Linked DNA regions of Homo sapiens: regions 1, 2, 3 and 4 are each linked to region 5. Evidence: promoter capture Hi-C in 16 types of primary human blood cells and fetal thymus (Javierre and others, 2016). All regions are on one chromosome and are shown on one strand. Each heading gives the region's core, a stretch centred on a gene start or on the middle of the fragment in contact. The rest is flanking DNA. Distances are from core to core; before and after follow the strand shown.

The links. The method cuts DNA at HindIII sites, captures the fragments that hold promoters and counts their contacts. A CHiCAGO score of 5 or more calls a contact.
Region 1: a contact is called between a fragment that was not itself captured here and the fragment with the promoter of PRKAB1 in region 5, in 1 of 17 cell types (naive CD8 T cells). The highest score is 6.8, in naive CD8 T cells.
Region 2: a contact is called between a fragment that was not itself captured here and the fragment with the promoter of PRKAB1 in region 5, in 2 of 17 cell types (total CD8 T cells and naive CD8 T cells). The highest score is 6.1, in total CD8 T cells.
Region 3: a fragment that was not itself captured here is called in contact with the fragment with the promoter of PRKAB1 in region 5 in 1 of 17 cell types (total CD8 T cells); the score reaches 6.4 in total CD8 T cells.
Region 4: a contact is called between a fragment that was not itself captured here and the fragment with the promoter of PRKAB1 in region 5, in 2 of 17 cell types (naive CD8 T cells and total CD8 T cells). The highest score is 6.3, in naive CD8 T cells.

What each region holds. Positions count from the first base shown.
Region 1 is chr12:118,408,611-118,414,073 of GRCh38, reverse strand. It overlaps SUDS3 (SIN3A corepressor complex component SDS3), which reads right to left. Exons shown (of 12, transcript NM_022491.3): 11 at 2,917-3,001. Among named protein-coding and RNA genes, the nearest start is that of SUDS3, 35 kb to the right of the region's middle. The HindIII fragment of the contact is 2,358 bases long and covers 1,214-3,571 here.
Region 2 is chr12:118,389,823-118,394,710 of GRCh38, reverse strand. It overlaps SUDS3 (SIN3A corepressor complex component SDS3), which reads right to left. Exons shown (of 12, transcript NM_022491.3): 5 at 4,765-4,784; 6 at 3,429-3,585. Among named protein-coding and RNA genes, the nearest start is that of SUDS3, 16 kb to the right of the region's middle. The HindIII fragment of the contact is 2,379 bases long and covers 1,354-3,732 here.
Region 3 is chr12:118,065,222-118,070,701 of GRCh38, reverse strand. It overlaps VSIG10 (V-set and immunoglobulin domain containing 10), which reads left to right. Exons shown (of 9, transcript NM_019086.6): 8 at 2,105-2,325; 9 at 4,008-5,480. The coding sequence ends at 4,063. The region is part of intron 1 of LOC124903030 (a long non-coding RNA gene); the gene reads right to left. Among named protein-coding and RNA genes, the nearest start is that of WSB2, 6.8 kb to the right of the region's middle. The HindIII fragment of the contact is 187 bases long and covers 4,102-4,288 here.
Region 4 is chr12:118,352,207-118,357,039 of GRCh38, reverse strand. The region is part of intron 1 of TAOK3 (TAO kinase 3); the gene reads left to right. Among named protein-coding and RNA genes, the nearest start is that of TAOK3, 18 kb to the left of the region's middle. The HindIII fragment of the contact is 2,961 bases long and covers 1-2,829 here.
Region 5 is chr12:119,664,458-119,669,452 of GRCh38, reverse strand. It overlaps PRKAB1 (protein kinase AMP-activated non-catalytic subunit beta 1), which reads right to left and starts at 1,320. Exons shown (of 7, transcript NM_006253.5): 1 at 1,050-1,320. The coding sequence starts at 1,208. PRKAB1-AS1 (PRKAB1, TMEM233 and CCDC60 antisense RNA 1) reads left to right here and starts at 1,326. Exons shown (of 3, transcript NR_188494.1): 1 at 1,326-1,510. RefSeq lists enhancers at 1-625, 1,064-1,473, 3,608-3,752, a silencer at 1,574-1,843 and a cis regulatory region at 3,671-3,688. The HindIII fragment of the contact is 11,826 bases long and covers 1-4,995 here.

The DNA.
Region 1 (5,463 bases), core at 1,143-3,642, 1.3 Mb after region 5:
ACAGCAATCTTGGGTTCCATTTCTGCCTTGATCTTAAAGATGCTTTTAAATTTGGTTTGATTACTGTGTTATCAACACTCAAGAGACATCTATTCATAAACACAAACTTTCAAATTTGGAAGTATTTTCCTTGCTCCAAGGGACTTCCATATTATACAAACTTTCAATACTTTGGTTTCCTGGCAATGAAGGCTAATGGTTGTGCAGAAAAACAGGGAAAAAATATCAACAATAGAAAAATGCCCACTAATGAGCTAAGGCCCAATTAGGATCATGAGAAGGTTGAAGCACTTCCGAGAGTCCTTCCCTCCTCACCATATCCCCCTCTCACAGACAGTATTAGATTACAGTGCATTTTACAGGGCAGATGCATTCTTCCATTGAATTGAGAATGAACTCTTGCAACAGGGGACTGCCAGGGCTGACAAAGTGCACTCAATAAGGGGCATCCTAAAGCCATGGGTGAGAAGGGGAGCTGCTGCCAGTCACCTGACCCCCTGAGCCAGGGTTACTGAGCTCTGTGTGCCAGACACCATGCTGATCAGGCTGAGCTTTTTCACCCGCAAGACAACCCTATGAAATAACTACTATCATTGGCCCCATTTTAAAGAAGAGGAAACCAAAGCTCAGCAAGGCTGAGTCACTTATCACGACGTGAATTCTGGTGTCTGACATCAAAGCCCCTGGCTCTTCTCTACTAAAGCAGTCTCTGGCTTCTTCTTGCCTGTTTTTCTGTAACATGCAATTAAATAGAGCCAAAAGCACAGTTTTTTGAAAGGTCTGCATCTCACCCAAATATACAAGTTTACAGATTTATCTCCTCCTTCCTGGACTCAGTTTTCAGGTTTTAAAAAAGCTTATTCTGTTTCATCTCAATTTCTTTAATGTGATTATTCAGCAGTATCTCTACTGCTTTAAAGTCAAATACACTGGCTTAAAAATTTAAAAAGTTAAAGACCTCACATGAAGCTAAGCCTCCAAGGGACCTTGCAGAATCATTTTAAATGAAAAACTGATCCCAAGAAAAGCTAAGTCAGGGAGTCATCCACACACTCAGAGCTACCCACCAAACCTGCTTGGAGTCAAGCTATGCTAAAGCCAAGTAGCTCCAGTGTCACCTAGAATTTGATCTGAAAAATGAGCTGGAACACTTTCAAGAAATGAGAACGGTTTCCCCATTGCCAGAGTTGCATGTCTTCAGTGCACTGAAGCTTCTCCCCTCCAGAAGACGTGTTTCAGTGTCACCATTTGTCAGATCTCACTGACACTCTATTATGTCAAGACGCGACAATATTCGGCAGAGAGAGGGGAAAAACAATCTAACTTGCATTTATATTTTTCTGAAAAATCTTGAGGTATCATAGAGGAGAATAATGCACTGGTTCTGAAGTTAGGGTCAGGTACTAGAAGGCCACATGTGCTTGTGGAACAACCCAGACAGCCAGGTGCAAATGATTACCATGAAATCGTGACACCTCTTGGCTGAGGACCAGGTCTCTCTATTAGCTTCCCTGTTCTGGTTCTGACTTGGCTTGAGGGGACTCACACGGATCCTCAGCCCAGAGAAGAATGGCATTCATTTATCTAGAAGGCTCTCCCTAACTTCTAAGTAAACAATCATTTTGCAAACTAGTCACATTTCAGGGCATTTTCAATTCAGGAAGCTGGAAGAATAGAAGAGGCTTAAGTTACTTCATAATCCAGTTTCATTACATTTACTGTGCACTGGCACGAATAAGTTACAGAGGGCAGACACATAGAAATCAATTTCTTTGCAGACATTTGTGGACTGATAAAAGATCAAGCCAATCCAGCTATTAAAGTTTTTAACTTTAACTAACAACATAAGTTACACATTGCTTATATACTCCTCATGAAAGACCACTTGGAGAACTCAGAGGGCAGTCATATCATCCTCAGGTATAACCCTCTGAGCTGACTTTAAAACCAGACCCCATCCATCCTAAAGGAGTGTCTCGAGGAGACCAAAAACCAAGGGCATAACCCTGGCAACTTGTTTTGAAGCACAATAGGACATCTCAGCTAGGAAAGACGGCAGGCAAGTGGCGTGTGGGTCGTTTCAGGCCAGCACTCACTTAGTGAGCACTTACTGGGTGCTAGACCCTGTGCCAGGTGCCTCATTCAATCCTCACAGCAAGAAACAAATCTACTGGTATGTGTGAAAGTTCTAGAGAAACAAAACCAAGATGGAGTATGCTCCACAGTCAAGCTCCATTCTCAGTAGATGGTTACCTTAAAAAGAAGCAGGAGTTGGCCAGGTGTGGTGGCTCACGCCTGTAATCCCAGCACTTTGGGAGGCCGAGCTGGGTAGACCACGGGGTCAGGAGTTCAAGACCAGCCTGACCAACGTGGTGAAACCCCATCTCTACTTAAAAAAAAATACAAAAATTAGCCGGGCGTGGTGGTGGGTGCCTGTAATCCCAGCTACTCAGGAGGCTGAGGCAGGAGAATCACTTGAACCTGGGAGGTGGAAGTTGCAGTGAGCCAAGATAGCACAACTGTACTCCAGCCTGGGCAACAGAGTGAGACTCTGTCTCAAAAAAAATAAAAATAAAAAAAAAGAAGCAGGAGTTGAATGTACAGACACCACACAGACTTGCTTTTTGTTCTTTCCTGGAATCTAGCTCCGTGGTTCCCAAATCAGTAGCTGTACCGGGAGTTCACAAATACCCCATGGAATAGACAAATCCGCATATGTTGTAGTCAAGCGAATGTAAGGACTTTTCAAGGATGATTTTGACAATGTGCAATTTCTGCCTGACTTTAGAATCTAACCCACATAGAAGACAGTACTCCACTGTACTTCCTTGGTGGCACTTTCATTTCAGGTTTGCCCTACCAACACTTCGCAGTACACATTTTGCTTCCCTAAAGGTGAGGGAGTGTGGTTCCCACCTCATTGGCTCCTACAGAACTGATCACGCAGCTCAGTTTCTGGTTGTCCTTTGACTCCAGATAGATGGCCTGGCTCTTGTGGTACCTGACAAAAACAAGGCACACATTTTTAAAAAGGGAGGGACAGAGACAGGAAGTAAAAACCAAACAAAACAAAAACACCATCACAACAAAAATTATAATTAAAGAAGTCTTAATAATTCACATTTGAGGAATAGCCTGGATTTCCCATTTAGCTTAATTTAAAGGCTTCCATCCTGAGGCCAGGCGCGGTGGCTCAAGCCTGTAATCCCAGCACTTTGGGAGGCCGAGGCAGGCGGATCACAAGGTCAGGAGATCAAGACCATCCTGGCTAACACGGTAAAACCCCGTCTCTACTAAAAATACAAAAAAAGTAGCCGGGCATGGTGGCAGGTGCCTATAGTCCCAGCTACTTGGGAGGCTGAGGCAGGAGAATGGTGTGAACCCGGGAGGCGGAGCTTGCAGTGAGCCGAGATGGCGCCACTGCACTCCAGCCTGGGCGACAGAGCAAGACTCCATCTCAAAAAATAAATAAATAAATAAATAAATAAATAAAATAAATAAATAAATAAATAAATAAAGGCTTCCATCCTTAGGTTAGAAGACCACCTAATCTTCTTTGGGATCTAAAGCTTATATTCCTTGGTCCCTCTACAGAAGGGAAAAGGCTGAGGAAAGTGTTGGAAAACTATGTATTTTTCCCTTTTTTTGGACTATATGACCCAGTTCAAAAAGTAAATTAAAAATTGTTAAATAAAAACTCTGTTTCCCCTTTCTGACCCCACACCAGAACACTGAAGAAGGTTGGACAGACAAAATATACAGGCATAAGCCACCGTTATTTATTTTCTATTTGTCCAAGTCAGTCACCAACAAGAAGGAAGGCTGACTTTAACCCTTTAGTCAGTCATTCAAAAATACTCATTAAGCACTTACTGTGTACCACGGACTATGCTGGAGGCTGGGGACAAACAGTGAGAAAGGCCACAAGTTCTCCACTATCACAGAGATTCAAATACACTGGGGATAAGGAACATTAAATAACCACACCTGGTAACAGCTAATCAGGCAAAGTTCCAAGTGCCATGACGTATACCAAAGGGTATCTAATTTGGCCTGGACAGTTGGGAAAGCTGCTTTGAATACAGTAGATAAGACAGACACTCCCCTTTCAACTCCTGCATCTACTCTCAACCTGTAGTGTAGGGCCACTTCTTATTTCTACAAGTTCAGAGACAAGGCCAAGGATGAAAGTGAAGTTGCTGGGGGCCAAAGCCCAAATGGGACAAAAGCAGCTGCCACAGGATGAAGGAGCCCCTGCTGGATTACAAGAGTTGGAAGTATCAGCGGAGCTGCAGCTAGCAACCCTGGCCTGGGCCAGCCCCACGTCGATTAATAACATAAACTTTGGTTCATTTTGGCTGCAAAGATCTGGCTAACCAGACCCATAAACTCGTGTAAATTTAGTAAAACACATCTCCCAGCAAAGCATGATGGCTTATTCTGTTTTGCTGGTATAAGGAAATAACCTATTGCCAAGACATGGCAAGTAAAGGATGCACTTCACTCCCATAATGAGCTTTTTCCAGTCTAGGGTCTCAATTCTCTTTAACCTGCTACTTATGAACTGAAAACTCAGGTTTCCAAGTCAATGTACTTTCTGAAAATACTGTTAAAAGAAACAGAATTTTAGGCCGGGCGTGGTGGCTCACGCCTGTAATCCCAGCACTTTGGGAGGCCAAGGTGGGCAGATCACAAGGTCAGGAGATCGAGACCAGCCTGGCCAACATGGTGAAACCCCATCTCTACTAAAAACACAAAAATTAGCCGGGAGTGGTGGCAGGCTCCTGTAATCCCAGCTACTCGGGAGGCTGAGGCAGGAGAATTGCTTGACCCCGGAGGCGGAGCTTGCAGCAAGCCAAGATCATGCCACTGCACTCCAGCCTGAGCAACAGAGCGAGACTCTATCTTAAAAAAAAAAAAAAAAGAATTTTAAATTCAATTAGAACAGCGAGAATGGTTTAAATGCAAGTTTTAAAGTTGCTTTTGGCCCTTTATTAGTTGGTAAACTGGCAGGGGACCTTCATTATGCTAAATATGTATTATCACAAGGGCCGAACTGTACAATGCATAAGAAAAGGCTAAGTTCATACTAACACTAACACTTCCCCTTGTTTCTCTCTCACATCTGAGCCAGCTCTCCTATGTAAACAGTCATGTCTTGAGTAATGGTTAAAATAAAAATACAGAGGGAGAATACTCACAGTTGTTCTAAAGGGACTGTAAGTTATTAAAGAGATAAAGACACAAAACAAAATGCAACTACCCTCAAGTCATTCTGATACAACTTTCTAAACACTTTAATAAAGAAAGGTCATGGATGTGGTGTAGAATATTACGAGTGTGGAAACATGCTCCATATACTGGTAGGTAAAAAAAAAAAAACCAAAAAAAACTATGTCAACTATGTTCCTGTGTTTATGATAAAACATACACATGTTACAGCTGGGTGCAGTGGCTCACGCC
Region 2 (4,888 bases), core at 1,294-3,793, 1.3 Mb after region 5:
CTGTCTTTAAATAAATCAATGAGTCAAAAACAAGCCTGTCAAATTGTTACCTTTATTTAGGGGCCCTCCATCTCAACACATTACCTTGGGGAAGTCAAGGAAGCTGTGTCAGCTTTCTAACTACCAGAAAATAGCCTCCTAGAAGACACAGACTTTATCCATTAGCCTGATTTTGTGAGTCACTTAGTGCCACCACATGTATCTATGGTATCTGCAGAGAGTCAGTAGTAGTGGTGGTGAAGAGAATATGCTTGGAGTGAGACAGACACTGGCTGAACCACTATCTATCTCACTGAGGGACTGTGAGCAAATGGCTCCACTTCTCTGAGCCACCTCTGCCATTTATAAAATCAGAAGCGATACCCCCAAGGTCAAAGGGAGCTGCGGGAACTCAGTGAGTTCCCAATCCCTGAGTGTTCACTCTGTAAACCAGCTACTTTGTGAAGCAACTTATAGGCATTATCTCATCTCACGTCACATCTACCCTCTGCAGTAGGTTCTATCATCCCCTTGCCAAATGAGAAAACCCTACCTCAGATTTAAATCTGTGACAGTGCCAGGATTCAGCCCTGGACCATCAGCCTGCAAAGTTAGCTCTAATATATTTATGTAATGCTTGGCTCAGTGTAAGTGCTTGGGAAACAGACTTCTATTTTGACATTGTAATGACTTGTGGTATCAGCTATCAACCAGCAGGATCAGCGACCCCTGGGGAAGGTGGTTAGAAATGCAGGATCTCAGCCGGGGCACGGTGGCTCACACCTACAATCCCAGCACTTTGGGAGGCTGAGGCAGGCGGATCACCTGAGGTCAGGAGTTCAAGACCAGCCTGGCAAACATGATGAAACCCTGTCTCTACTAAAAATACAAAAATTAGCCGGGCGTGGTGGTGCATGCCTGTAATCCCACCTACTTGGGAGGCTGAGGCAGGAGAATCACTTGAACATGGGAGGTGGAGGTTGCAGTGAGCCGAGACTGCGCCACTGCATTCCAGCCTGGGCGACAGAGCAAGACTTGGTCTCAAAAAAAAATTAAATTTAAAAAAAAAAAAGAAAGAAAGAAATGCAGGATCTCAGCCTCCACTCCAAAGCCCCTGAAACAGAATCTGCATTTTATCAAGACCCCACTGACCTAACACATTGAAGTTGGGATGCACTGACCTATAATTCTTCCTAGCTTCTCTATGTACAGTTACTCATTTCTACCTGAACAACCCAGTTTTCCACAAGAGGTTTGGGCGGTGAACAGTACATCCTGCCAATTCCTATGGAGGTTTATAAACGCTTTAAGTCATGGTGGGAAAGAGCAGGTCGCCAAATACACCCGTTTCCAGTGGGTTATTTAGACTAAGCTTCTCATCAGCGTCTTATCCTACTTTGCTTTTCAAGAGACGTTCATGTTGAACCAAAAAAGGAGACTTTAAAAAGTATTTTTCAGGGCAGAGCTGGGCAACAATGATATTGGGCATCAATCCACAAAGATGAACTAAGTCACTCAATTAGAGGAATGAAATCAAGCCTTTAATCCAACACCATAGCAGCGCCATCTGTGGAAATGTTAATTACCCTTCTAGCTCCAGCACCTTGTCTTCCAACACTCCATCATTACCTTGGCAGTGCTTTCCATACCAAGGGTATCAAAGGTGCCCTGAGGAAGGACATCCATACCTTTAATGCCCATGGCTAGCTTTAAACACTTCTGTAATCTATTTTATTGCGTTACAAATGATTTCCCTACATTTATTTGTCTTTTCTACCCTGGCAGGCTCAGCCTCAAGTCACTGAGGATGCCTCCTGTCCCAGTTAAGATTCTGGCTGTAAAACTGCCTGGCCAAACAATGTCTATCGCTTGTCAATAATTAGGACGCCAAATCACAGGTAAGGTGATGATACCCGTTCCCCACAGACGGAAAGGGAGCAGCTGTAAACGGATAATATTTCCCACTAGCCTAATGAAGGCTCCCAAACATCTGGTGGCTCTAGCAGAGAACAATGAGGCATCAATGCCAGTCACAGCCACTGTCAGAGAAAATGGTGTGCAGGTCCAAAAGCCGGCAGGCAGACTGGTACCAGATAAGGTACCACGGTGCTACTGGTCTCATTAAATAAGCACTTTCACAAGAACAAGACTATACTGCCTGAAGCTGCTGTTAGCTGCTGTTTTGGCATCCATTCTCACAAAAAAACATTTCTGAGCTGCTTTCAGAGGCCTTCAAGGAGCTCATTTCTTTTGCCAACTCTCTCTATGAGGAAGCTAACAGAAGAGAGATTTTTCAAAAGTCAGACCCCACCTTAGGCACAACCACATTCTCTTAAGTGTATCATGAGGATTGGAGCCAGAAGTCTGTGTCAGTCAGAAGGCCAAGCTGGTTCACAGCACCAGGAATATATAGAGGGGAACAAAGATCTTAACTGGCTACTTTTAATTTCAAAGTCAGCCCTGAGAACGTCCACAAAAACACTGCATGCATTTCCTACAGAACCCTGCTAAAATCAGACACACCAGAGCCCCAGCACTTTCCGAATTGTAAGAGTTAAATTTGGGGATGTACAGAAAGGCATGCCACCTCCATATCCAAGTGACAAACTCACCACTGACTTGCCTTGCAGTATTTGCCAAGTTCCAAAATAGCTAGTTCAAGCCAATTCCCTGTATCCTTCTAGGAATCATCAGTCTACATATGGCAACAGAAGAGTTGGCCCATATTGTTTCTCCCTGAAACCTGCCTACAACCTGCTGAGTTCCCATATGTGGATTACTAAATTCTAGAAGGTTAGAAAGGCATTGGCTCTGAGTCTCATGTAACTTTCCTACCTTTATGGGAAACTAGTTCAGTTTGGCTATCCTGTTGGAATCATATCAAATCTTTCTGAAATGTTCAGTAACACCTGGCAGGAGAGATCTAATAGCATAGAGGATATAGCCAAAAGCCTTTGTTCTTACATCTAGGTCAAAGGGAGACAATACCTTTTCTGTAATTAAGGCAGACTGGAAAAAAACAAAGCGAGGGATTCCCATCACCACAGAGGGACTTGCGTAAGCAATTTGGGAACATAACCAAGATACAAATGGCAGCAGACCCAGGAATTAAGTAGAGTCTAAGCCAGAGCTTGCAATTACTATTAAAGGTCTAGCAACTATTGAACATCTGTTATGCACAGGACACTGTACTAGGCACTCATATGTCTAACCACAATCCTGTGAGAGGGTATGATCAGCCCCATTTCATAGAGGAGAAAAGAGAAGTTAAGCAGCTTGACTAAGGTCACACAGCCAATAGAAGGTGGAGGAGGAACTCTGATCTATGAGGTCAAAACCCACTCTCCACCTTGCTCTGCTCTTGAAATGTAAGACAAAAGTAACTGGAACAGCCCTTCACACCCCCCCGCTCAGGGCCCCCAAGATCCCACCCCATAGGGCTTTCCTACCTCCAGTCAGTTCCATTGTCAGCTTTTCATTTTCAATCATTTTCTTCTTTTCTTCTAGCTCAGCAATCAGGTTCTCTTTCAGCTCAACCTTCTTGTCTTCAAATTCTTTCACTGCTGCCTTCTTTTCTTTAATGTAATTTCGTTCCACTTGTTCAGTCTGAGCAAAAGAGAAACACGGGCTGGGAGTACACAGCCCTGGGAGCCAGGGCTCCAACTCAAAGTCTAGCCCTGTCCTCAACTGCAAAGTGTGTGAGAGTTTCCCCCTCACACACACTTGCAGTAACAGTGTGTCTGAGAACAAGCTTTCCAGCGAGGGTATAAAATCAGACCCACGTGACTTTTGCTTATTTTTGAGTACACCTCACTTGCTACCCAGATATTTTTTCGCTTCCACATCCTATATTTTATACTAAAACACATTTCTCAAAGGTAGTAAATAATCGCTCATAAAGTTACAGCTTCAAAGGAAAATAGATTCTAGATAAATTGTGTATATTCAAAAAGTTACTATTATTTTTGATACAGCAAGACAAAAGAATGGAACAACATTTAGTAAGTGCCTGAACCCCAAAGTATACATATATTGATATTATACTAAGACAAAAATTGTATATGCCTCCGCTTTTCAAATCTCGCCATTGTGGTGACTGACATAGGGGCCTATGGTGGGCTAAGGATGTGAGTACCTCACTTGAGTGTACCTTCAGGCTGATCACGTGATCCTTCTGGCTGAGTGACTATGGGCACCACACTGATTTAAGGAAACTGGGTTCCAATAATGTGGCTCTGAAAAACCATGACTTTCTCAAAAAGTAACCCCCACACACATGCTAGCCACTCTGGGAGCAGTACATCATTCAAGATTCAGGCCCTCATCTCTGTATCACAGCACAGAGTCTGACACAGAACCAGCACTCAGGTGTCCATGGAATGAAAGGAAAAATTAGAAATCTGTCTTTTTTTACTGGCCCAGAGAGTTGCAGCTGTAAAACAGAACTGCTGAGCCAATTCAGAGATTGAACTGCTTCAAGGACCAATATCAAACTATTAGGCCGTTATAACTCAGAGACTTCCAAACAGCTCTAACACGGGATAGAAGTCAATAAGCAGTTAGGGATGAGTATTCCTTATTCCCCTGTGATAAGCAGAGGCTGCGCAACAACAAATGACCAGACAGGATGTCTGAGCTGAGACCAAATGTCCTTAAGTCAAACAGAACAGTGGTGAAGGCTTCCAAACTATCTACTTGGTGATAGAAGGAAAAGCCACCAGATCAGGACTGCAAGATTCCAGTCTCAGACAGGGCCTGCAAACCCAGAAGATCCGTGGTACTTACTTCCAGCTGGAGGAAGAGTTCTGCAAGAGATAAAAAGTGCAATTAGATTTGCTAGGCTGTGCCACCTTTCTAGACAGTGATGTTAGCATTCATTTAGAAGCAGTAATTGCTTTCTGAAAGCATG
Region 3 (5,480 bases), core at 2,946-5,445, 1.6 Mb after region 5:
GGTCTGTCATTGAGACAGAAAGACAATGTGTACATTTTGAGCCAGTCATTCATGCATTTGTTTTATTTAATTTTCTAAAAAGAGCTAAAAGAAAGAATCAGTCATAGTCTTAAGTTTTTTTTTCTTTTTCTTTTTTCTTTTTTTTTTTTTTTTTGAGACAGAATCTCTCTCTCTTGCTCAGGCTGGAGTGCAGTGGTGCAGTCTCAGCTCACTGCAATCCCTACCTCCCAGGTTGAGGCCATTCTCCTGCCTCAGCCTTCCGAGTAGTTGGGATTACAGGTGCGCACCATCAAGCCTGGCTAATTTTTGTATTTTTAGTAGAGACAGGGTTTCACCATGTTGCCCAGGCTAGTCTCAAACTCCTGGCCTCAAGTGGTCTGCCCGCCTCGGCCTCCCAAAGTGCCGGGATTACAGGCACGAGCCACTGCACCCAGCCAGTTTTACAGTGTTTTGGAAGACTACTATGAGCATGCCCAGAACCCCCTCCCAAAAGGAAACCCCAGTAGGGGCGAAGGAACCAAACGGAACTTGTGTATTTCATTTCCTAAGGAGATTCTGGGTGGGAGCAGAGTACTCTTCTCTATGATCCTATGGAAAAACAGTTCTTTACCTCTTCAAAATGACAGGATATTATTGACCTGGGACCATCTTTCGTAGCAAAACATTACCTTTACTGCCCTGTATTGGAGGGCCATTCTTAGTAAGTCTGTCATTCCCTGGGCTTATTTCTCACTGGAGGCATCAGTGTGGTGTAGTAGGAAAAGGCACTGAGACCATTGGACCTGGGTTCAAATGACAGCTGTGCCATTCCCAAGCCCTGTACCCATAGAAAATCCCTGACCCTTTCTGAGCCTTAGTCTCCTGATTTGTTTCACCAGGGGGTTTGTGAAGATTAAATGACAATGTAACACAGCTCCTCGGGCAGGTGACTGACCTGTGGCGTTCATTCTTCTTCCTTAAGAAATGCATAGTCCAGGCCGGGTGCAGTGGCTCACGCCTGTAATCCCAGCACTTTGGGAGGCCGAGGCGGGTGGATCACCTGAGGTCGGGAGTTCGAGACCAGCCTGACCAACATGCAGAAACCCCATCTCTACTAAAAATACAAAAAATTAGCCGCATGTAGTGGCGCATGCCTGTAATCCCAGCTGCTTGGGAGGTTGAAGCAGGAGAATTGCTTGAACCTGGGAGGCAGAGGTTGCGGTGAGCCATGATTGTGCCATTGCACTCCAGCCTGGGCAACAAGAATGAAACTCTGTCTCAAAAAAAAAAAAAAAAAGAAGAAGAAGAAGAAGAAGAAATGCACAGTCCAGGCCGGGCACAACAGTGGCTCATGCCTATAATCTCAGCACTCTGGGAGGCCAAGGTGGTTGGATCACTTGAGGCCAGGCATTCGAGACCAGCCTGGCCAACATGTTGAAACCATGTCTCTACTAAAAATACAAAAATTAGCCAGATGTGGTGGCGCATGCCTGTAGTCCCAGCTACTTGGGTGGCTGAGGCAGGAGAATTGCTTGCACCCAGGAGGTGGAGGTTGCAGTGAGCCAAGATTGCGCCACTGCACTCTAGCCTGGGCAACAGCGCAAGACTCTATCCCGAAAAAGAAAAAAAAAAGAAATGTATAGTCTGAAATGCAAAGTCTGGCTGGGTAGGCAAGCTAGTGAGCTGGTGATAAATAAACTATAGCATGGACTCTAAATGCAGTCATTAATTTAGGTCTTTAGCAGGAGGGAGAGGACTTTACCTGGGTCTTCCAAAATGAGGAAGGGGAGAGATTTTGGTAAGTAGAGCAGAATGAGGGCATTTCAGAAAAGGAAAAACATTTGTCTACCTGCTGTAAGGGGACATGAAATGGTAGATGCCTGGGACAATATGGTCACCTGCCCAAGGAGCAGGGGAGTAATAAACCAGCATGAGATACCATCATCTGAAGCAATTTGTGGCAGCATCTCTGCGGTTACCACACCATCACCTCATTACTTCACCAAGCTGTAATTTTCCATATTACTAATGGGGTTGCAAAGAATCTAGTGTTTCCTATTCAGTGAGGGCTGAAGTTGGGAAAAATAAGAAATCTTCTTGATTATTTTTCCCCTTTGGAAATTAGGGGACAAAACATGGATGATGTCATGGTTTTGGTGGATTCAGAAGAGGAAGAGGAGGAGGAGGAGGAGGAGGAGGAAGATGCTGCAGTAGGGGAACAGGAGGGAGCACGTGAGAGAGAGGAGTTGCCAAAAGAAATACCTAAGCAGGACCACATTCACAGAGTGACCGCCTTGGTGAATGGGAACATAGAACAGATGGGAAATGGATTCCAGGATCTTCAAGGTAAGCTCTTTTTCCTTAAACAAACAAACAGAAAACAAACAAAAAAAGGCGCGTTGGCTCACGCCTATAATCCCAGCACTTTGGGAGGCCAAGGTGGGAAGATCACTTAAGCCCAGAAGTTCAAGACTAGCCTGGGCAACATGGTGAGACTCTGTCTCTACGAAAAAAAAAAAAAAAAAAAAGAAAAATTAGCCGGTCATGGTGGTGTGCACCTGTGTTCCCAGCTACTTGGGAGGCTGAGGATCACTTGAGTGTAGGAAGTCCAGGCTGCAGTGAGCTATGATCACACCACTGCACTCCAGTCTGGGCAGCAGTAGGAAACCTGCCTCAGAAAAAAAAAAAAAAAAAAAAAAGCCCACAAACCTCTGAACTGCTGCGGTGAGCTTCCCAGCAGGAAATCTCTAAGGGGTGAGTTTAGTTTTTTTAAAAGGCTGGGGAAGATAGCTAAACTTTAGTCTAGAACCTGAGACTACTATCAACTACCAACATGAAAATCAAATTGACAAACACTTATCAAGGTCCTGGTCTAGGGTAGGCACAATATTGGCATTGTGGGAGAACAGAAAATAGAGACTGGTAGTGTCTGCATGCAGGGAGCTTTACAAGACCAGTTCAGGCCAGGTGCGGTGGCTCACGCCTATAATCCCAGCATTTTGGGAGGCTGAGGCAGGTGGATCATTTGAGGTCAGGAGTTTGAGACCAGCCTGGCCAACATGGTGAGACCCCCATCTCTACTAAAAATACAAAAATCAGCTGGGTGTGGTAGGTGCCTGTAATCCCAGCTACTTGGGAGACCAAGGCAGGAGAATCACTTGAACCCGGGAGACGGAGGCTGCAGTGAGCCGAGATCGTGCCACTGCACTTCAGCCTGGGTGACAGAGTGAGACTCTGTCTCAAAAAAAAAAAAAAAAAGGCCAGTTTAGGGGAACAAACTAAAACCTGCAGGGGAAATGGAAACAGGAGCAAGATTGAACCAACACACTGAGAGAGCAGTAGAGGAGCTGTTGCAGGAAGATATTTGATTAATTGCCTGATGGACAACACATTTAAAAATTATAGGCACGGTTGCTCATGCCTGTAATCCCAGCACTTTGGGAGGCCAAAGTGGGTGGATCGCTGGAGCTCAGGAGTTCGAGACTAGCCTTGGGAACATGGCAAAACGTGTCTCTACTAAGAATACAAAAAATTAGCTGGGTGTGTGGCATGTACCTGTAGCCCCAGCTACTTGGGAGGCTGAGGTGGGAGAATCACCTGAGCCTGGGAAGTTGAGGCTGCAGTGAGATGAGATCGTGCCACTGCACCAAAATTTATAGGACCTCAGAGAAAGATAAGAGCCCGGAGAGGTGTGCTGGTCAGGGGAAGCTTTATGGAAGAGGTAGACATGAAGCAAGGCGTTAAGACGGCTGAGTTGGAATAAGCAGAAAGGAGAGAGGGCGTTTCAGGTGAGGGGAGGGGCGTGAGCTGAGGACATGAAGGGTGACTGGTATCAAGCATGCCTAGAGGTTCTGAATGTAGAAAACAGGTGAAAAGGGGAAAACACACGCTGCCCTACCTTCTCCATGAGATCCCATTCTGTGGCTCACCAGGAAAGGACTAGAAATCACTGAGATGATTGATGACTGACGGTGGAAATAGAATCACACTCTGATTACAAAGCATTGGGTTTATTTCCCCCCATACAGATGACAGCAGTGAGGAGCAAAGTGACATTGTTCAAGAAGAAGACAGGCCAGTCTGAAGAAGAGGATGGTCCATGGTTGTCTTGCTCTGAAAGCTTGGAGAGCTACATTGAAGACGAGCTCTTCATTCAGCTTTGACTCCACCTGCACCCCTGGCGGGGGCTTGCACTAACAATGTTTGGGTCTCAGCAAAAAACAAAACCAAGCACACACATCTTTCCTTCCATGTATTGAAAAACATTGGTTTGATTTGCTCTAAGTTTTCCCAATGATGTTTAAAAGCTTTGAGAAGGAAAGCTGCTTTGGTGTCTGAGGTGCCACTTCTGCTGTGAATCCTGGCTTTATCCAGGTTGATCTACTGTGATAGATGCTGATTTAGAGGGAACAGAGGTCAGGGAAGCACTGGGTCTTGGTGCCTTTTGCCGCTTTTTTTTTTTTTTTTTTTTTTTTTTGAGACGGAGTCTCCCTCTATTGCCCAGGCTGGAGTGCAATGGCACGATCTTGGCTCACCACAACTTCTGCCTCCCAGGTTCAAGCGATTCTCCTGCCTCAGCCACGGCACCTTGCAAATATCAGCTCCTTGGAACAGGTGAAGTTCCAGGTACCAATGCCAATCAGAGGAAGGCAGTTTGGTTCAGGCTTTGGAGTTAGAAACACCTGAAGTTGAATCTGGGCTCTGTTGCTTCCTTCTTTCATGGGCTAGAGCACGACTCTTTACCTCTCTCTTGGCCTCAATTTCCTCACCTGTAAAATAGATGAGGAAGCTGCTCACTTATTATTGTCTCGTTCTGAAAGCTTGGAAAGCTACATCGAAGATGAGCTCTTCATTCAGCTTTGATTTGACCTGTACCCCTGGTGGGGGATTGCACTGGCAACATTTGGGTCTCAGCAAAAAAACCAAGCACACACATCTTTCCTTCCATTTATTGAAAAACATCTTTGTAAGATCCATTCATTGAAAAACATAATCCATTTATTGAAAAATATCTTTGTAAGATCACCTGCTAAATATGAAAATCTGACTTGAATTTGTACTCTTTAAAGTTGCGTATCTGCTCTAGTGGGCAGGACCTAGGGCTTAAAGGGGAACTTCCTTTCTCCATTTCTAAGAACTGGGACTCTAAAATGAGAAGCTGGTTGTCTGAAGTAACCCTGCAGGTGTGGTTGGGGAAGGTCTGTTTTCTTGGATGAAGGAACTAAACTAAGCATATCAGAGCACTGTCTTAACCAGTTTTATTTCCCTGGAGATAGAATTCTTTTAAAAAGAGTTAGGGAGCTGGTAATAGGAAGTGCCTTTCATTATAACTACATTTTGCAGAGCTTCATATTTATATACAAGCCTCCTAGGTGATACACTGTTAGCTTGCAGACTTTCCTATGCTTCATTTCTCCTGTTGCTTTCAAAGAAGGCAGGAGACACGTTTAATAACGGAGTATCTGGTGATAAGAATTGCTTGGGCAAACCAGCTCATCTGG
Region 4 (4,833 bases), core at 100-2,599, 1.3 Mb after region 5:
GAGTTATGCAAGTTGCTCGGGTCACTGGATATTCTATTAAGAAATCATTTTTATGTTACCAACCAACCTAGTTAGTCTTAAACTGGCTGATCTAAGTAGTAGCTTGCTTGTTTATTTAGAGACAGAGTCTCACCCTGTCACCCAGGTTGGTGTGCAGTGGCACAGTCATAGCTCACTGCTGCCTTGAACTCCTGAGCTCAAGTGATCCTCCTGCCTCAGCCTCCCCAGTAGCCGAGACTACAGGCATGTGCCACCATGCCTGGCTAATTTTTTAAAGTTTCTTTTTTTTTGTAAAGAGGGAGTCTTGCTGTGTTGCCTAGGTTGGTCTCAAAATCCTGGCCTCAAGAGATCCTCCTGCCTCTGCCTCCCAAAACTCTGGGATTACAGGTGTGAGCCACTGCACGTGGCCATATCATTTTTTTTTAATGTGACCAAATTGAGGCCGGGCATTGTTGCTGACGCCTGTAATCCCAGCACTTTGGGAGGCCGAAGTTGGAATATCACTTGAGGCCAGGAATTTGAGACCACCCTGGCCAACATGGTGAAGCCCCGTCTCTACTGAAAATACAAAAATTAGCTGGGCGTGGTGGTGTAAGTCTGTAATCCCAGTTACTCGGAAGGCTGAGACATGAGAATCACTTGAACCTGGGAGGCGGAGGTTGCGGTGAGCTGAGATTGTGCCACTGCACTCCAACCTGAGCGACAGAGCCGGACTCCATCTCAAAAAAAAAAAAAAAAAAAAAAGAAAGTGACCAAATTGAGAAGATATTGAGATCCTGTCAATACCATCAAATAGTAATGCAAGTTATCCTACTAAAAGAGGGGAGGGGACAGTTACATTCCCAGTGCATAGTAGTGTCCCATTCTCCTTCAGGAATGGAATGCCATGTTTTCAGTTCAAGGAAAGGTTGGAAGTGAGTCAAGGAAGCTATCATTTGTATCACACAATTCTTAGAATTGATGCCCTTCCCTAATTCTTTTACATGATCAGCAGCATATCCAGGTTTCTGGTATTTCTTACTTTCAGTTTCTGTCACATAGGTTTGGGATTGGCAGGATAGTTTAATGTTTAATAAGAGTGTGGCAGATAAACATGTCTGCCACCTACTAGCTTTGTGACTTTGCACAAATCCCTTAACCTCCCCGAAACCTCAGTTTCTTCTTCTGTAAAATTGATATAATTATAATACCTACTTCACAGGATTGTTGTGAGGATTAAATGAAATAATGTATGAAAAGCATAATTTTGGCCACACACTGTAAAGGAAGAGCTCAGTGTGCAAGAATAGTTATGCTTATTTTTGCCATTTTTGGATATTTCAGTTCTCATTCATAGCTTCACCAGAAAGTGATCATGGAAAGAGATACAACAACACATGGCATTATGTATAGATAATAAAATCAGCGTTATAATAATAGAAGTATTTAGAAAGTACCAGGGAACACAGGGATGAAATCCACCGATCTTATTTATGCCCTTCCTCTTACCACATTGTGTACTACCCATTCCAAGGGGATAGGAAGAAGGAGACAGGGATCGACTGTAGATTTAATAATTATTCATCAAAATGATTATATAATCTGACAAATTTCACTTTAGTAACATTTTTCATTTTGTTTCAATTGAGATCATTTCCTCCCAATTTGATGGAACAGCCCGGGAAACAACATGGTGAAGTGTTGATTTCTTAAAATGTTATTTTCTCAGCAGAGTGTGTTTGTTTTCTTCTGAGTACACCACTCAGATAAAGTTAGGACTGTGTCTTAAGATTTTAGATCAGCTAAAAAAATTTTTTTTGTTTTGGTGACAATAGAACATAGATATTTACATGTATATTTGAATACAATAGTCCCCTCTTATCCTGTCTTGCTTTCTGTGGTTTTAATTACTCATGGTGAACTGTGGTCTAAAAATACTAAAGTGGAAAATTGCAGAAATAAACCATTCATGAGTTTTATTTTATTTATTTATTTTGGGACAGAGTCTCACTTTGCCACCTAGTCTGGAGTGCAGTGGTGCGATCATAGCTCACCACAGCCTCAGCCTCAAACTCCTAGACTCAAGGGACCCTCCTGCCTTGGCCTCCCAGATAGCTAATTAAAAAAAAAAATTGCAGAGACAGGATGTATTAGTCTGTTTTCACGCTGCTAATAAAGACATCTGAGGCTGGGTAATTTATACAGGAAAGAGGTTTAATGGACTCACAGTTCCACATGGCTTGGGAGGCCTCACAATCATGGCAGAAGGCAAGGAGGAGCAAGTCATGTCTTACATGGATGGCAGCAGGCAAAAAAGAGAGCTTGTGCAGAGAAACTCCCCCTGATAAAACCATCAGATCTCATGAGACTGTATCACAAGAACAGCACGGGAAAGACCCACCCCATGATTCACTCACCTCCCACCGAGTTCCTCCCACAATGCTTGGGAATTGTGGGAGCTACAATTCAAGATGAGATTTGGGTGGGGACATAGCCAAATCCGGTCTGGCCTCAAGTGATCCTCTGGCCTTGGCCTCCCAAAGTGCTGGGATTACAGGCATGAGCCACTGTGCCTGGCCCCATTCATGAGTTTTAAATTGCTTACCCTTTTGAGTAGTGTGATGAAATCTCCTGCTGACCTACTCCTTCTAGCCAGGGAAATGAATTATCCCTTTATCCAGCCTATCCACACTGTAGATGCTACGTGCCTATTCGTCACTTAGTAGCTGGTTGTCTTGGTTATCAGATTGACTGTTGTGGTACCTCAGTGCTTGTGTTCAACTAACCTTGATTTTACTTAATAACATCCCCAAAGTGCAAGAGTATTGTGGCTAATTTATAAATTAAGCTTCATTGTAGTTATGTATATATAGGAAAGGAAATAGTATATATAGAGTTCCATACTATCTATGGTTTCATAAATCCACTGGATGTTCTAGAACATATTCCCCACACATAAGGACAACTACTGCATAAAGAATGTTTTCCGTTCTCACAATCTGAGACTCTAGGGTTCATATCTTGTATTGGGTCAGTTAACTTTGTTGACGTATTGAAAATATTAAAACTAATTCTTACATAAGCAGATTTTCATAGGGATGTGTTAGCAAAACAGATGTGAAATTTAGGGGACACCCGCAGTCAATTCACTAAACCAAACAAGGAAACTCCTTATAGGATACTTGAAAAAAAAAATGTTTAGCCGTTGTGAATATACTTTTAGTGTTTAAAATTTCAGGGTGTTAATCTGTAATGTAACCCCTTTGTCTCCTAGCCAGCTCCTGGCTTATTCCATGTTTTTCCTTGTTTCTGAGAATTCCTAACATAATAGTCTCAAGGCTCATTACATCGCTGGTAAAATGCACTGCACCTCGTGCACCTTTCCCATTCAGACCCTTGTTGCCTCGTTCCTGGACTACCACAGGGGCCTGCCTTCATTTCAGTCTCTTTTTCCCAACTCATCATGATGAATCTTCTTTAAATGCTACTTCTAGCATGTCACTCCCTTTTCAGAGAGCTTCAGTGGTTCCCTGTTTTCCACTATGTTAAATCTAACTTCTTCTGCTTGACTTTCGACACCCTTTCTGATTTGCCTGTACACTATTTATCCAGCTTCATTTCCTATGATCTTGGGCCTATTCTTTCTGTTCTATTGAAGTCGGTCTCTCAAACACACCAAACTCATTCAAGTCTCTGCCTTTTACTTCACCCAAAAAGCCCTTGCTTGGAGCTTCTCGCTGCCTACGCAGATTTTACCATTCCTTCAAGATCCTGTGTGAAGTGTACTACCTGTTAGATGCTTTTCCTACTCCTACTATTTTCCTGCAAATTCTCGGGTGATTTTTAATTTAGCAAACCAATGAACAAAAATCTGTGTAGTGTCTTCTATCACACACTCTTGTATCTTCACTAATGTAAACATTTTGAATACAAACACCATATCTTTTAGCTAAATCTTTCACAGTTCCTAGCATAAGGCGGAGGAAACTGATTTTGAAGAGAAAGAAAAAATAGTAAATGTATTTCATCATGCTTATCTAAAGTCAACTCAGGCCGGGCACAGTGGCTCACTCCTGTAATCCCAACACTTTGGGAGGTCAAGGTAAATGGATCACCTGAGGTCAGGAGTTCGAGACCAGCCTGGCCAACATAGTGAAACCTTGTCTCTACTAAAAATACAAAACTAGCCAGGCATGGTGGCACACACCTGTAATCCCAGCTACTTGGGAGGCTGAGGCAGGAGAATTGCTTGAATCCCAGTGGTGGAAGTTGCAGTGAGCCAAGATCGTGCCACAGCACTTCAGCCTGGGCAACAGAGTGAGACTCTGTCTCAAAAAATAAATAAGATAAGATCAGTAACCCTGGTAATACAGTAATGTTGAAGGGACCTGAGTATTTTTCCTATTTGGGTCCAGTCTGTCACCTCATTTACAGAAAAATGTGAGACAAATGAAGACAGTTTTGTAATTGGTTACAGATTGATATGTTTGCTTTTCTTTATGAGAAACTATATATGTGTGTATATATATGTGTATATATATGATTTTTTTTTTTTTGAGACAGAGTCTCGCTGTGTCGCCCAGGCTAGAGTGCAGTGGCGCAATCTTGGCTCACTGCAACCTCTGCCTCCCAGGTTCAAGCGATTCTCCCTACCTCAGCCTCCTGAGTAGCTGGGATTACAGGTGCATGCCACCATGCCTGGCTAATTCTTGTATTTTTAGTAGAGACAGGGTTTCACCATGTTGGTCAGGCTGGTGTCGAACACCTGACCTCATGATCCACCTGCCTTGGCCTCCCAAAGTGCTGCTATTAAAGTGATATAGCCAGCTGCCGTTGGAGAGATATAGTTTTGAT
Region 5 (4,995 bases), core at 71-2,570:
TACTAAAAATATAAAAAATTAGCCGGGCGTGGTGGCGGGTGCCTGTCGTCCCAGCTACTCGGGAGGCTGAGGCAGGAGAATGGCGTGAACCTAGGAGGCGGAGCTTGCAGTGAGCCGAGATCGCGCCACTGCACTCCAGCCTGGGCGACAGAGCGAGACTCGGTCTCAAAAAAAAAAAAAAGTAGGCTGAACCGGCCAGCACCGTAGCTCACGCCTGCGATCCCAGCACTTTGGGAGGCCAAGGCATAAAGATTGCTTGAACCCGGGAGTTCGAGACCAGCCTGGAGAACATTGTGAGACCACCGTCTTTTTTATTTTTATTTATATTTTTTTTTTGAGACGAAGTCTAGCTCTGTCGCCCAGGCTGGAGTGCAGTGGCGCGACCTCGGCTCACTGCAAGCTGCGCCTCCCGGGTTCACGCCATTCTCCTGCCTCAGCCTCCCGAGTAGCTGGGACCACAGGCGCCCGCCACCACGCCCGGCTAATTAGTGAGACCACCGTCTTTTAAAAAATAAGTAGGGTGAATCAAAAGTGTTGGGCAGAACTAAACACCTCTGGCAACTGCCGTCAGCTGTTCCGCTCTACTTTCAGCTTGTATATGTACCTGGTTTGCCTCCAAAATGGATAAATTCCCAAACTAACTTTTACAAAAGCTCCAGTTTGTGTAAAGGTGAGGGAATTTGTCTCAAAGCAGTGCAATTAATTACACCTAAGAGAAAAGCAGAAGCTGGGGCTCAATTACTGTTAGCTCGACTCTGAATTAATTAAGAATTTGAAACTCTGTCCCAGAGCTGCTTTCTCCTTAATGATGTTAAACCAAGTGAGCACCTCCTCCCTCAGGGTGACTTTCTCATATTGGTAATTAGACACAGGTTCTTGGACCGCTAAGAGAACTCTTACAGGACCATCTGGCTTTTAAGTGCACCGGGTAATGTACCACCTCCCTCTCCGTTCTGGTGTTTTTCGAAAGGATGTGACGGGAATCTAGTGGAGGGTTCCTCTCCTCAACATTAGTCAAGGGGAATCGGGTTCCTCCACACCGCTCGCACCTTGATTTCCTCGGAGTGGAAGAGGTCGGCGTCTTCGGGGCTGTCCATCAGGATCTTGGGCCTGTCCCCGTCCTTGGTGCCCCCCGAGCTGTCCCTCCGGGGCGTCTTATGGCCACCATGCCGCTCCAGCGCGGCGCGCTCACTGCTGGTATTGCCCATGATGGGGGTCTGCGGGGACACAGGGAAGGCGGACGGCGCCTCACTGCAGGAAAGGGACCCTGAGCAAGGGACTCCCGGAACCGCGGGTCCCAAGGAGCCTGCGGAAGGAGTCGGAGCACCAGGACACCACGCCCCTCGGGCCGGGAGCCGGTTCCGGCTGAGTCGGCAGGGTTGCCGAGCTCTCGCAATCGCGCTTTACCTGCCCAGGCAAGCCGCGGCAAGAACGCAAGGGGCGCGAAGATAAACCGACACTTTCCCAACCGCTTCACCACCCCTCAGCGACTTCCGCTTCCGGCGACTCCGTAAGTCGGCCCGGCCTAGGGCGTGGAGGTGGCGGCGGCCAGCTAAACGCGCGAGGCTATCTCGATTCCATTTCCGCTTCCGGTCTTGAGCGGTGCGGTAACAGGTGCCCCGGGCCGTCTCTGCAGGCCTCGGAGCGCGCAGTCGCAGTCAGCAGCCGGCCGCCCAGGGCCAGGCCCAGGACGAGGCGCTGCCGAGGGCCGGCAGGGGGCACCCCAGCGCGCGGGCAATCTGAGCCGTTCATGCGCTGGGCTGAATAATGCCATTTAGCTATCTTTGCTCACTTATAGTTGATTCTACACTCTGCAGCCAGAGGGATCTTTCTAAAATGCAAATCTGATTCAGAAACTCCACTTCTTAAAGCCCTTTTAATGCACGTGTTCTCACGCTTTACAGTGCATTAGGTTAACCTGGAGCGCTTGTTAAATGCATCCCCCACTGCAGACCTGCAGAATCATGATTTCTACAGATTAGGGTCGGGGGTGCAGGCAGTCTTGCAGGTATTTGAAAAAATGGCAGACCATAAGATCTCTGGAAATTTCTTATGTCTAGTAGGTTGGGGGTTGTAAAATGCTGGAGTTATTCGTGTATTTTTATTGAGTGTGCAATCTTTTGATAGGTAATTTTGCAAGATATCTTGTAATCACTTCGGAAACATCCTTCTGCATAAGATGCATTAGCGTTTGTCATTTACTCTGGTCAGTGCTTCAACAAGAAGTGCATACAAATACGGTAGTAAAATATTCTCATCTTCTCATTGTCAGTCATTGTCATATTTTGTGGGTTTTTTGGTGTGTGAATATCTCAAAATACTTTGCATTTGCCGGGTCAGGTCATGCATTTCACCCACTGAACATTTATTTAGTACCTAAAAAAGTACCAGACATTGTGCTAAGGAAATGAGGAACACAAGATGACTAAGATAAGGTTTCCTGGGGGGAATTCAGCAGTATGCATCAAAATTTAAAAATGCACCTTCATTTTGACACACAATTTTACTCCTAGGAAACTTGTGCAGAAATACACACATGAAAATTATTTACAAGCATTATCTACAAAATATTTACATGCAAAAATATATTCTAAGATGCACTTGTCACCCCCCATGCCCCCATATATTTTAATTTCTGAAACTGGATGCTTTTTACAATAATGGAATCTTACACTTGGTGAAATAAGGAAATGAAAAACTACAAAATCCTAAAAGTTGTTCAGTAGGAGAATGGCAAAATGAATGGAATACATTCATTTTGTAGAATACCAAGCAACTTTTAAAAAGGGAGAAACCATTTTTAGGTCACTATGGGGAAGTGTCTATGATATTGCAAGGTCCGGAAGCAAGTGAGAGAACAAGTTCAAGGGCAGGAGCTCTGAATTCAGCCTGGCCATGTTCAGATTCTGGCTTTACCATTTAGTAACTGTCACCTTAGTCTCTTCTTTTGTGAAATGGGAACAAAAATAACACCTACTTCATAGGCTTGTTTTGTGAATTAATTGGGAACGTGCATAAAAATGCTGAGCATAGCACTTGACTCTTAGTAAACACTCAATAACTGTTAACACTTTTATTAGCACTATTAGGCTAGCAAATGGAAAGTTCTGGAAGGGTATACAACACATTGTTAATAGTGGTCTTCTGTGGGGAGAGGAGGGAGATTGCAAATAGGAGCAGACAGAAAAGGGACTTTCACTTTTCATTTATATAGTTCTGTATTTGAAAAGTTTTCTATTGTGAGGATGTACTACTTTTTAATTTAAAAAAATAAGATATGGTTCCAGCCCCAAAGGAATTAATACAGTACAGGCTGGCACCGACCCACAGAAAAGCAATAATATAGCTAGGTAAGGGATCCTGTGGGAGCCCAGAAGGGACTTAAGCCAGGCCAGGAAAAGGGATGGGAGCCAGGAAAAGGGATGGGAGCCAGGAGGGTCTTCCTGAAGCTGATGACTGAGAATTTGAATGTATTCAGTATAATCAGAAATGTTGAATGTGCTTGCTGAATTAAATAAGCTAAGATACTGTGGATGACCCAGGATATCTTCTTTGAGCTGCTTTTCTAATAGTGGCCCTGACTTGGTTACATGAGACAGTGGGGTGTTGAGTTTTGAAATCTCTCCCAAACAGCCGGAGAGATAAGAAAGAACACATGAGCTGTGGATTCTTTATCTGAGCTATGCAGATGCTTTGATGCATGAAGAAAGTTTTAAGACATCTGCACTAGCTTGAATAAGATAACAGTGAAAGCATGGGTGGCCCTTGATGTCAAATACAATCAACAATATCCTGAGGATGCCACCAACTGCTGATTGGAAACTCTTACCACATTGTATCAAGATTTCATGACAAAGAAACTAACATTGGTATCTATCAGCTATTGACCCCATATTGAAAATCATGGGTAGGGTAGACTCGCCAATTACAAGTGTCTACTTGGGTCCCAGCTGTGTCTCTCTTGGGTCATTTTGTGTTACTTATCTGTGTAACAATGGTTTGTGACTTTCCTAAGCATCAGAGCGTCTCATCTTTCTCTGATTCTCTGCTGATATGGATGTCAGACCATTCCATCTTGGGGGCTGGAGGTGTGCCAGGAAGTATAACTGTTAGCACATTGCTGTGTAAAAGGCATCATCTACTCACTGCTGTCTGTCTGGCACCAGGGCAAAGACAAATGATAAATACCCTAGATTCTCCCCCAAACAAACCAGGGCAATTTTAACACAGCCACAGCTAGGAGTACCCCTCCCCCACCCCCGCAACCCTGGCTTCAAATTCACTCCAGCTCCAAGCACAAAAAGAAGTAGGTTTTCAAGTCCTTAAAAGTCACCCAGAGTGAGATAAAATCTCATTTATCCTTAAATTTATGATTAAAAGGGTTAAGGATAATGTTTTGGGGCCTCCTCCATAGGATGGATTAGAATCAGTATAGCACTTCTGAACTGACCAACCCATTTGTTTTATATAAGGAAGAGTCTAAGTCCCAGAGATCGAACAGTTTTGCCTGAGGTCACTCAGATGATCATAGGTCATACTGAGACTGAATTCTGGATCACCTGGCCACTCCCCACTACATCATGGTCATGGCACCTCATCAAAAAGACCTTTGGTTCCCCAGCTGGCCTGTCTACAAACATTTGTACTGTTCTGAAGAACCCTCCCCATCTAAGAACAGCCAGGGCTCTGATCACAAATAACTCAATGGCAATATTGAGTGCCAATTATGAGCCAGGCACTGTTGTAACTCTTGGTTACAACAGTGAACAAAACCAAGTTCTTGCCCTCCAGAGGAAAGAGTCCACACACATATGCACATGTGGTGAGAACAGGCAGTGTTCTCACTAAACATCGGTAGCTGGAGGAAGAAATTTCACATTTGGACTATGCTGTAGACTAAATTGTATCCCCCCAAAATTCATACATTTGCACTCCCACTCCCAATTTTATAATGTTTGGAGGTGGGGCCTTCAAGGGGTAATTAGGGTTAGATGA